Linked DNA regions of Homo sapiens: region 2 is linked to region 1. The links are contacts of gene promoters, found by promoter capture Hi-C in human tissues and cell types (Jung and others, 2019). All regions are on one chromosome and are shown on one strand. The core of a region is centred on a gene start or on the middle of the fragment in contact, and the rest is flanking DNA. Distances in the headings are between cores, read along the strand shown. Region 1 holds the start of BOC (BOC cell adhesion associated, oncogene regulated). Region 2 overlaps CCDC80 (coiled-coil domain containing 80).

Evidence for each region. Contacts are between HindIII fragments. The study calls those that stand out against the background at their distance.
Region 2: a contact is called between a fragment that was not itself captured here and the fragment with the promoter of BOC in region 1, in 1 of the 25 tissues and cell types used here (lymphoblastoid cells).

What each region holds. Positions count from the first base shown.
Region 1 is chr3:113,209,318-113,215,136 of GRCh38, forward strand. BOC (BOC cell adhesion associated, oncogene regulated) reads left to right here and starts at 2,240. Exons shown (of 20, transcript NM_001378074.1): 1 at 2,240-2,699. LOC124909486 reads right to left here. Exons shown (of 2, transcript XM_047449436.1): 2 at 1-2,963. The coding sequence ends at 2,238. RefSeq lists an enhancer at 2,601-3,252. The HindIII fragment of the contact is 6,739 bases long and covers 1-2,651 here.
Region 2 is chr3:112,631,949-112,637,767 of GRCh38, forward strand. All of the region lies in intron 2 of CCDC80 (coiled-coil domain containing 80), which reads right to left. Among named protein-coding and RNA genes, the nearest start is that of CCDC80, 6.3 kb to the right of the region's middle. The HindIII fragment of the contact is 3,547 bases long and covers 875-4,421 here.

The sequences.
Region 1 (5,819 bases), core at 990-3,489:
CTTTGAAAAACAGAAGGCTGGATACGCTGCTTGGGTCCCTGGGGAGAAGGAGTGTTATCACTGCAGAGGAAGCTGGTTGACCCATTCCCTTGGGGGAATTAAAAGTTCTGTACCCAGGGTGGACCCCAGGCCTTGTAGTCCAGAATTGTGCCTTGGAAGGAGGACAAAAGAAAGTGGAAGCTAATATAGTCAATGACTGGAAAGAAAAATAGGTCTTTGAGAATGTTGGGGGAGATTGTTAGAGATTAAAAGGGAAGGAAAATTAGGATGATTAAGTAGGAAAAGGAAATGTAGGTGGATAATGCACAGAGAGAGTTCAGAGTCCTTTTCACCTTCTTGCTGAAAATGCATCATCCTCCAGATCCATTTTGCCAGAGGAACATGCCTAAGAATCCAGGCACAGAGCTGAAAGTACTCGATAAATCAAAAAGGAAATTGGCTTCTGCCTGAATGACTAAATACCGGAGAAAAAATAGTGCAAAATATGGAATAAAATACATTTATGTTTCCTTTGTAAAGGTCTTTTGGTTCAGATTCAATTAGAGTCCTATACTCAGTGTAAAGTATGTATGTTTACTGACAAGAAACAAGTTAATAAAAAACAAAACAGGGCCGGGTGAGGTGGCTCACGCCTGTAATTTTAGCACTTTGGGAGGCCAAGGTGGGCAGATCACTTGAGGCTAGGTGTTCAAGACCAGCCTGGACAACATGGTGAAACTCCGTCTCTACTAAAAATACAAAAATTAGCCGCGCATGGTGGCAGGTGCTTGTAATCCCAGCTGCTTGGGAGGCTGACACTGGAGAATCTCTCGAATTCAGGAGGCAGACTTTGCAGTGAGCCGAGATTGCACCACTACACTCTAGCCTGGGCGACAGAGTGAGACTCTGTCAAAAAACAAACAAACAAACAAACACACACACACACACACACACACACACACACACACACACACACACACACAAAACCCCCAGAGGCCCAGAAAAGTTAAGTGACTTTCCAAAGTCACAGTGGCTTCCTGACTCCCAGTGCAGCTGTCCAGCCACACAGGGAAGGCAGCACCCCCATTCACCCTACTACTAGCCTGGCTGTCTTATTTCCAGGACAGCTTCCTCACCAGCTTGGCACAAACTCCCAGTTCACTTTAAACAAATGGCTTAGCCCTGCTGGGACTTGGTTTTCTCAGCTGCAATGAAGATACGGAATGGATGACCGCTCACAACCTGTGCTTCATTCCTAAAAAATAAGAAGGGAATCCAATTTGCCACCAACTCAACATTTGCCTTCTCACTGCCCTGGAAAGGTAGTTTTTAAAACGTGGCCCCTGACCTGCAGCATCAGCATCACCTGGGAACCTATTTGAAATGCAAATTCCCAGGTCCACCTACTGAATCAGAAACTCTGGAGGTGGGGCCCAGCAAAGGGATTTAGCAAGCCTTCCAGGGAGTCCTGCTGCAGATCAAGTTTGAGAACCACAGCTCTGAAAGTTTTCTGACCAACACACACGCGCGCGTGCGCGTACACATACACACGCATAGGTAACTAACTTTTCCGTGGCCACTAGCACCCCCAACCCATGCCCCCAACCCCAGCCCCAGCTCTCCCTCCCCATTCCTCCCTGGCTCCATCCTGGGATGATGAATGGAGGTCAGGGCGCTGTCAATGGACGACGCGGCAAACCCTCCCCAACCGACCGAGGGGGTCGGGGGAGGCTGCGTTAAGGCTTCCCTGAGATTGGTTTCCTTATCATTTTCTCCACCGCCGCTGTCCCATTTTCTGATGAGTTTGCTTTTAATGATTTATCCAACAGTTTGTCTTGCAGAAGAAGAAGACCATTGAGAGGTGGGTGTCAGGAAAGTCTTGGAAGAGACTAGGCGAAAGGAGGGAAGGATTGTACATGGAAGAGCAAGGGTGCGAGGTGAAGCTAAAGAGAAAGTGAAGGCTTCAGGGGAGCCCCCTGGGTTCGGGGAAAAGGGAGAAGATGGTGCTTTTGGTATGGGAAAGCAAAAGAAGTTGGAGGAGAGCGCGGGTCTGAGGCACAGCAAAAAGTGGGTGTTAACGGGAAAACTGCCCTAGAGTTTGGGGGACTTTTTCCAGCTTCCTTTCCAAGACTTTTTCTTTGCTCCATTTTGCTCCTCCCCCTCCTCCCAGCCTCCTCCACTCCCTCCTCCTCCTCCTCCTCGCACGGTAATGGGAGGCTCCTAGGCAGGAGAAGCAAAAGAAGGAATTGTTTGCGAGTTCAGTCATCCAAAAAGCTTCTTCCATATGGAGGGACCGGGTGCGCTGGGCGCGGCGTCCCCTGCGTTGTCCTCCTGCTGCCGCCCCCGCGGCCGCCGCTTTCTGCCGCGGGGACCCTGAGCCCCGGCCCGCCGGTGTCAGCCGCCGCGCGCGCGCACAGACACACACACAGAGACACACAAACACACACAGAAAAGACACACACGCGCACACACGGCGCGCACACCCTCACGCCCGCCACAGCCACAACACGCCCGCACGCGCCCTCCCTCTCCGGCCCGCAACTTCTCGGTCCTCGGCTCCTTTGTTGCTCCAGCCGCGGCCGCTCGCCCGTGTTGTGTGTCCCCGGTGTCACCGAGCGTGTTGTGTGTCCGTGCGGCGCGGCGCTGTGTGGCTCCCTCGCGCCCACCACGCTGGCCCCCGGGCCCCGGCTCGCCCTTCCCAGGCGCCGGCTGCAGCAGAGGTGAGTCACGTCGCTGAAGTTTGTTTTCTTTTCATAAAAAGTTGTGTTTACTGTTGGTTCGGGGAGAGGAGGGGGCGGGAGGCGGCCGCAGGCCGAGGCAGCGCCAGCGAGTGGCTGCCGGGGGACGTGCCGGCGGCGGGAGCCGGGTCCCAGCGCTCGGCCGGGCGCCCGGGGCTGGGAGCTGCGGCCGAGGCTGGGCGCGCCGGGCGCCGGGCGAAGAAGTTGGGGCGAGGCGGGCAGCGGGGGTCCCGGGGGCTGCAGCCGCTACGGGGCCCAGGGGCGCCGCATCTCGTTCCCTGCCGCAGCGGTCTGGCCGGGCGATGGTGGTTTCGCCTCAGCGGTTCCCAGAAGCTTCTCGGGTGGAAGAAGGATCCAGCCAGCCTCCCAAACTTCCACCGAAGGTTGACACCAGCGCCCCGGCCCCATGCTCCAGGCCGTGGGGGGAACCCGAGGCGTGGCGGCAAATGCGTAGAGTCACTCAACACGCACTCGGCCTCTTTGGAGGGTGAGGGTTTCTCATAGTTGGCGTCTTCTAAAGGAAAAACACTAAAATGAGGAACTCAGCGGACCGGGAGCGACGCAGCTTGAGGGAAGCATCCCTAGCTGTTGGCGCAGAGGGGCGAGGCTGAAGCCGAGTGGCCCGAGGTGTCTGAGGGGCTGGGGCAAAGGTGAAAGAGGTGTGTGTGTGTGTGAGAGAGAGAGTTCGTGTGTGCGTGTACGTGTGTGCGCGCGCGTGTGTGCGTGTTCGCGCCAGCAGCGTCCTCCTGGGGTTTTTGTTGATGTAACTGTGAGAAGGTGTGGGAAATGAATCTCTGGAACCAGTGGGACGGGGCTGTGGGGAGGGCAGGGAACCCAGGAAGAATTTTCATGGGGGTGTTGAAGGGCCTGCTTGACTTTCAGGATGTTCAGTATTAATTTGCTTTTCCAGGTGATGGGAGAATGCTGAGGGATGAGAGAGGCAGGCAGACCTGAAGGAGTTAATGGAGCCTCGGGGATTTGTTTGGCAGAGTTTTGTTTTGGGGATGGGGGTGGCAGTGCCAGAGTTGCTTGGAACAGAGTTGTGCTCCTCCAGAGATGTGGCAGTAGAGCTAAGAATACCGAAACCACACACCAGCAATCCCAAACTGGCACTTTTTGGGTGTGGTGGGGTGTTCTGCTGCTCCCCTCATCCCTTCTCTGCAAGTTCAAATGGGTTCGCCTAAGTTTTTGACCCAGAGTTACCTCTTTGAGTGGACTGAGTGAAGATTATATTTTGATTTCAGGCCCTTGTGCCACCTGCAGATGCACTGTGCCCAGCACACATTTGTCACCTAGTTCTTTGTTGTCCAGAACTCGGTACACATTGACCATTGGATGAATGTCATTTTAAAACTTCAGTGTGCAGACATTTCTGATTTATTCCACGACTGGGTCTTAAACAGGCAGCCCAGCTCTGTGATGGTTTTTTTCATCCCTTTGGTTACAGCCAATAAATCAATCTTCGTTTTCTTAAGGGCAGCATGGAAAATATTAAACCACAGTCTTGGGCTGCTTGTGGGGGCTAGGATGCCCATACATCTGGGTGACCTGTTTTCTGAACTTAAAGTAAATCTGAGGCAAGAGGTTAGCCATTTTGAGGTGTGTAACAGGTTTCCCAGAAACATTTCTGAGGTCTTATAATTGGTACTTTTTAATGGTCTCATAATTGAGACCCAGAAGCTTCTCGTGGTGATCTGAAAGCACCTTGGGGTCAGTGGGACAGAGGCCGGGCAGAAACAGCAGTAGAGTTATTATTTTCCTGCTATGAGTTTTTCAAATGAGTTTATGCAAAGAGGTAAAATGAAAGAAAGAAGAGTTGCCTCATTGGGCCACTTTGCTGACACTGTCCTCCCCTGTATAGATTTGTCACTCAGAATTTGGGCCTTGAGGAGGCTGGAGGGTGTCTACACATTTATGAAGCCTGAGGATTGAGACCTCAGACACTGTCTCTTTTATCCTCTATCGAGATACTTCAGAAATGCTTCACTGCAAGAGACATTCGCTAGGGAGCAGTTGTCCCCCACGCCATAGGCCACTGGCTTTACTTGGGAAAAGAGGTTGCTAGAAGCCAGAATGGTTGATTCTTTGACTACAACTGGAGAGGGAGGGTGTGGGGAAAAAATAGAGAGGACTCTGCTTAGCTGTTAATTGGTGAGCCAACTCTTGGTAAGCTGTGTGATTTATGTTCCTTTCCACCCTCCAAATGGGTCCAGAGATTTTCCCTTTTTTTGAAGTGCTTTTTCAAGTGTTTGGGATCCCGGCTCTCTTCAACAACATGGTTTCCATGCCCTAAGAATGAATAAGAGATTTTACCCATGAAATAATTCAGTTGACTTTCACATGGACCCCCCACGGTTTGAAAAAGGAGAGCAAGAAGTGAGCCTGATGTGTCATAGTGTTCCGTGTCCCCTAGGGGGTCTGGGTTCAAATTTCGGCAAAGCCACTGATGTGGGTAATGAATTAGGGTTTATCTCTGTGTCTTTCAAACTACAACAGAAAACTCAGGTGCACCAAATAATTGCTATCCAATACCTTGTGGCCTCTGAATAAGAAAATATTAACTTGGCACCAAAAGATATTATATATTTGGAAGTTGCTTTCTTTCCTCCAAACTCTAAGCCCTCTTGCTGTCTGGGAAAATATGGGACAGGAGAAAAGAATCGAAATTTGAGAGGGAGAGGAAAGAAAATAATATGTTCCATTTAGAAAAATCTATTTACTCTAACATATGTAACTTCTTGTCATCTCCATACTTCAATTCAGCAAACATTTTTAGTGCATCAGGCACCAGGCTGAAAGCTTCCTTGTCCCAGGAAAGTAAGCTTTATTAGTCAAATGATGGTTCCTCCTCAGTTTTTATTTATTGTACAAGCATCTACTTGTAATTAAGAAAATGTTTTTTAAATTATCCACAATCCTATGGACTTGTGTTGCTCATCATGTGCATGCATACTTTTGACATAGTTGTGATAAGAGTATGAACTTTTGTCATCAGACAGCCCTGAAGTGTCTCTACATTTTTGACTAAAGACTCAGAGAACAGATGTAGCCAACTACTTTGCTGTTGGTTGGAAAGACCCAAATCCTAAGTGTGCTCCCACA
Region 2 (5,819 bases), core at 1,398-3,897, 580 kb before region 1:
TGTGTTTCTATGCCTGCTCATACGGACATTCTGGGTAGGAAATGCTTGTTTTAGGAACATAATTTTTTAAGGGGAAAAACAAAATTTCTCCAAATTTATTCATTGATTCACATTAGCCTTAAAACAAGATTAAAGGCAGCTATAAAAAGATGTGGTGATGGTATTTTTAGTTGCTTGGTTTGTTTTTAATTAGCTTTATGGCATCTGAAAATATTTCTTCAGATCTTGATGGGAGCGCAGATACCAAAGTTTTATTTTAAGTTGGTATATTTTAGGTCTTTTTTTCTGACTGTTTTGTGCTCAAAACCACACTATTCTGAAATAAATAAAATGAATGTTTAAGTAAAAACACAAAACAGTAAAAACAAAGGTAAGAGAAAGGGACTTACTGTTCATGGTTTTGGACTCCCTATTCTAAATTAAGGATAAGCCATATTTAGAATATATTTAGAGGAGTTTCTAGGGCAAAGCTGCTTAGATGTTAGATGACAGAAAATTATCTGTTTCTGTAACTTCAAATTCATACATAGATTCCATTTCATTCATACCATACTTTGCCATAGACCCTTACAATCTGTGGACAGATCACGGTATGACAGGATTTTAAGAGTCCTCAACCCTCCTCTAGTCTTCTCCCCCTTGTGTATATTAAGGATATCAGACAGTATGTAATCACACAGAACCTTATCCTCCCCTGTGTGGTAGGTTCTCCCACATAGCTCTATACACAGTGGCATGAGGCCATGGATACCCAGTGGGAATCTCATTTAAATAAATAAGTGCCTCTGATGTTTATTTTCACTGCAGACCCTTTGCCCAAGAATGCCTTTAACCACCAGTGGGGTGACATTCGTTTTGCAGGACTCATTCTCTAACTTCCGGCCCTCCACGTTCTGGCCCCGGGCTCTCTTTTGCTAATGTCCTCCTATACCTCCCTTACCTGACCTCTTTACCCCCTAGAGCCAGACCCAGTCTAAATTAGGAAATGAAAGGAATCTTGGGCAGAGAGGCATAGAGAAAGAATAATTGCAGTCAAAGTCAGGGGGCTGTCATTTCGGTCCTAGTTCAGCTCCTGGCTAGCTTGTAGCCTAAATAAATCCACTTAATCTTCTGAAGCTCAGCATTGTCATTGTTATAATGAATCAACTTTCCTGCCAACCTCATCACGTTGTGAGATCTGAGCAAAAGTAAATATATCTGTATATCTTTATAAGATCATAACATGAACTTATTACAGATTGATTTATTCTTAATAAATAAATATGTGTCCCCCAAGCACATACAGGTATGTCACCTCTGAATAATTCACCCACAATCCTTCCTCTGTCTTTGCCCAAGTCACTCCTTCTACCTCAGAAACCTGCCCCCGCCCTTCTCTAAATCTCATTCTTTCTTTCAATGCATTATCCTCCTTAAAGTCTTTTCTAGCATGCAGGGATCACTTCCTCCTTTTAATTACTGTTCTTTTTGTCTGCCTCGCCCACTTGGAATTTAAGCATTTCCTTCATTTACTATATAACTGTCACATCTCCCCAGGCAGAATGTAAGTTCCTCAGACTCTATTACTGTCCTGCAGATGGTGGGGGCATAAATGCTGGCCAACACTCCTCCGGTTATATAGATCACCCTAGTCAGAGGAGAGGAGAGGGACTCAGGAATAAAGGGGTCCCCTGGTTGTTGTGAATGTCTAGATGCAGGCTACGACTTTACCAGTTGGTGAAAACACTCTCCCTTACATTTAATCTGCTCCTCAAGTTTGCAACAGAGAAAATAGAGAAGACTGACCATCTGAACCCATTTCAGGGACTCTTTCCCTATGTTTTGACATCTCCATCCCATTCACTTTCTAGTTGGGCTGTATTTCAGACAGTGTTTAAAATGAGAACCATTTCCAGTCCCCTCTTCCTAAAAAGAGCAGCTTAAAGCTCCTCAGTAAACACTATTTTCTGTCACTTGGCCTCTTTCCAGTTTGATGGCAATAAATCAGGGCATGTATCATGAATTTAGACCTGTGTTGTATTTCTTTTTCATGGCTTCTGTTCCAACTGGTGTGTTGGCTCAATGAGCCTCAGAGGATAAGGAAGCCTGTTTGCATAAGTAAAGAGAGCAAAGAGCAATGGAAAAAAGCTAGAGGGAAGACACTTTAAGTCTCAGATTATTCAAAATACTGCGTTAGGCTCAAAATGCTAGATTTTTTTTTACAGGATTCTGAAAAATAACTTTCAAGCTAATAGTCTGCCTTAGTACAGCAGGAAACCTTAAATTCTTTCCTAAAATTAAACCAAATAAGTAGATGGTTGTCCTAATACACAGATGTCTGAAGTAAAGTTGGAAATATGAACCCACTTGAATTACAGGAGATTCAGTCACCAAAGAATTCTTAAATTTGCACTTGAATTCATTGAATTCAGCATTTGAGGTCCCTTGTTAATTGACAAGTGACTAGATCTCAGAGCGCAGAATGATGGCTTCTCAGCTATACTCCCCATAGTACAATGTTTTGGTGATAAGCTTACCTATAGTCTCACTATCGTCAACCTCAAACTGACACCAAGCAGACTGAAGAATTAGGTTAACTGGAATCCAATCTATTGTTTTTGACTGACTGTTTGGAAAGCCAGAGAATTGAGTGCAGAGGACTAGCTGCGTATTAAAGGCAGAAACTCCACATTTGTGCTTAGCAATCATTTACCACTTATCTGGGTGACTCAAGGTTGACAATGAATTTTTAAATGTATTTGTATTCATATGTATTAATTTTTTAAATTCATGTTTATTAACTGGCAAGATCATTCCTCAGTTTCCCCTTCACTTTATGGCATATCCCACAGGAAGTTCATACCCAAAAGAATTCAGAAAGGGAGATTGGCCTGAATTTGAGTTTTCAACTCAAACAGATCTGAATTCTAATTCCGACTTCACCACATATTAGCTATATATCTTGGGTAACTTCAGGTTCTGTTTTCTCATGTGTAGAAAGGGGTAAATAAATCATTCCTTGAGGGATTGTTTTGAGAATTAAACCACACAGTCTTGGCAAAGTACCTTGCAGGATGTGCCCTTCTTCGTCAACAGGTTTAGAGGCAGGAGGTTTGAAAGAGTGAACACTAATCTAAAAATAGGACACCTGGCTCCACCTGCAGCTCCTGTGAAGGCCTATAGGAAGCCATCAGCCTGTAACCCACATCATTGCTGTTAGTGTTTCTGTAATTGTTAAGTAGCAGTTATGTGATACGTCCACATCTAAAGAATGCTATAAATAAAGACAAAGCACTAAGGGTTTACAATAAATGGCAGTTAAGTACCAGGTTACTGAAAAGCTGAGAAGATGAGCTGAAAGTCCTGCACAATTTCTTGGAATGTAAACCTGCTTTCAGTCTGAGTATACTGGGTTAAGTTAAGGCCAGTTGGAGGTAGTTGTTCTCAGCCATACTTAAACAGCTTGAGAGCACTAAGCCTTAATGAATAGTAATTGAATCACTGAGCTTCCTGAGTAACATTAGCCAAGTTTGATGGGAAAAGTGAGTGGAAAAGGCTAAACAGCACCAACAATGTTTTTCACCCATTGGTCTCCTCTCTGGCGAAAAATTCTTTTCTCTCCATCTTTTGCTTTGGTATCATGTCTATTTCATTTGGTCTTTTCTAATACATTCTTACTTTAGATATCATTAGCTCTGCAGAAGACACATTTCTGATATGATCATCAGTTGGGCGCACATAGGATCAAAAGTCTGAAAAGCCTTCTGTTAGTATTTTGTTTCTAATAACAAACCTGGTTCTCTCACTAGGCCAAAGAACCAACACTGCCAGGAGCAATTCCAGCTGGTTTCTGTTTTGCCTCACATGACATCAGCAGAAGCTGTCATTTGAGTTTCATTTGCTAGAAATTTATAAGCAGGGATACTGTTAAAAGCAGGATTGGCCCAGCTGGGCTTTCACATCTCCCACTAAGGGAGTGGGGAGAAGGAGGGAGAAATGAAAAGTATGACTAATATCAGGGATACACTGTGAAAACCCCCTTTTTTGACTCACAAACTAGCGGCAATGGGAAATATTTGCCAGAAGGGTGCACAATTACAATCCTGACATTTTACCCATGATTTTGTTTTTAAAACCTGACCATGAGGAACATTTTGCCTGCCCTGTTGGCTAAATGAACAGAGTTGGGTGATGTACTTTAGTGGGCTGGACAAAGTTGTAGGTACTCAGGAGGAGAGCACTGGAGCAAACCACTAATTCTTTCCCATGCCCCAGAGAGAGCAGTTTGCCCCCACAGGCTCCCTAACAGACATTCAAGTATCAGGTAGAGTTTTACTCTGAAATCTGATTTCTTTTTTGTTCTAATGGGAACATTCCCATTTAAATATATGTACTCTGAGAATATCCAAGCGACCTGATAACCCAAGTTTATATAGACACATTAAGGCTCTGGTTAGATATTCCACCAATATACAGAAAATATATAACAAAACACACACAGACATACACACAAATCCTTAGAATCAACCAGAGCTAGGTTTTACTCTAATACACAGACCTACTATCAATGTAAACAGCTAAGAAAATTTGGGATATGTCCCACTCATGATAAACATCACAAAGAACTTTGCTCTGAGTAATATTTCAAATGCACATTTAAACTTTCTGAAACAACACACGATAAATGGGCACCAGAGTTCCTCTGCCCAGATTATTAACCGAAATTTAGGCTAGCTTGGAAAACCTAAAAGATCCTCTAAAAAATGCCTTGAGAAAAGAGTGTCTGTCTCTTTTGGTGGGGGAAATGCAGGGTGTGCAGTTACCTTGTGCCTTCAAGAGGATGGGTGCTGCCCTCAATGGCATGAGTTGATTCTCTCACCCAGGCATCTGAGAAAATCATTCCTGACTCACATTACCCAACATCAATTTATTGATCTTTTACTCAGAATTAATGGTAACAATATCCTTTTCCTCCTTGACAGCCTGGAGTAAAAAGCTAGTCTTAAGATCCAGGGGTGGAAATTTTGGAGGGGCAGTAAAAGAGGGAAAGAGAAGACAAGAAGAGGAGAAGGAGCCATTTGCACATCACTGATAAAAACTGCCCTTATATTTGGCTCACTCCTGCCCGAAGCCCTCATTTGGTGGTGGCAAGTGATGGCCAAAACAGAGAGTTGCTGAGATGAATCTGTGCCTTACTCAACACGAGTGGCACAAAGAACTGCAGACCAAGGGCAAGTAGGGACAGCTTGTCTCCTTTTTCACACACTGATGCACAGGCACATGCACATACACATTTTACAGAGCCCCCGGAGAAACTGACATCTAGATTTTAAATTCAGGTGTATCTCTAGAGTACCGGAAATTGAAGCAATTAACCCAGTTCCCCACATTCCACTCTTTGGCTCTTCCTAGTAGCTGGATAGAAATGGGAGAGGTAGGCTTTAAGGGGAGAAGATTTCTGCTAGCTCATTTTAAAAGGATCCGTGAGGGTCATACCAACAAGGACTCTTCTCTACTCTCAGTCATACCCACTCCCCACCCAGGCTGTCTTACTTTCCTCTTGGAGCACTCCAATGTTGATATAGAGCTAATTAGTGAAAGAGGGGACCTCTGCTATTGTCCCATAGACATGATTCTAGTTCCTAAGTCAGACAGAGAGAAACCCTTTTACTAAGATGTAACTGAAGTCAATGCACTCCCTTTTAGGAATTTCATCTTTCTTTTCATCCTTTGGACTTGGTAAAAGAGAGCTTTGTCCAGAAATATCCCTTGGAAGAGAGTGGTAGAAATGGGGGAAGGGTCCCTACAGGTCTAGAGGAAGCTGACTACAGGTGCTCTCC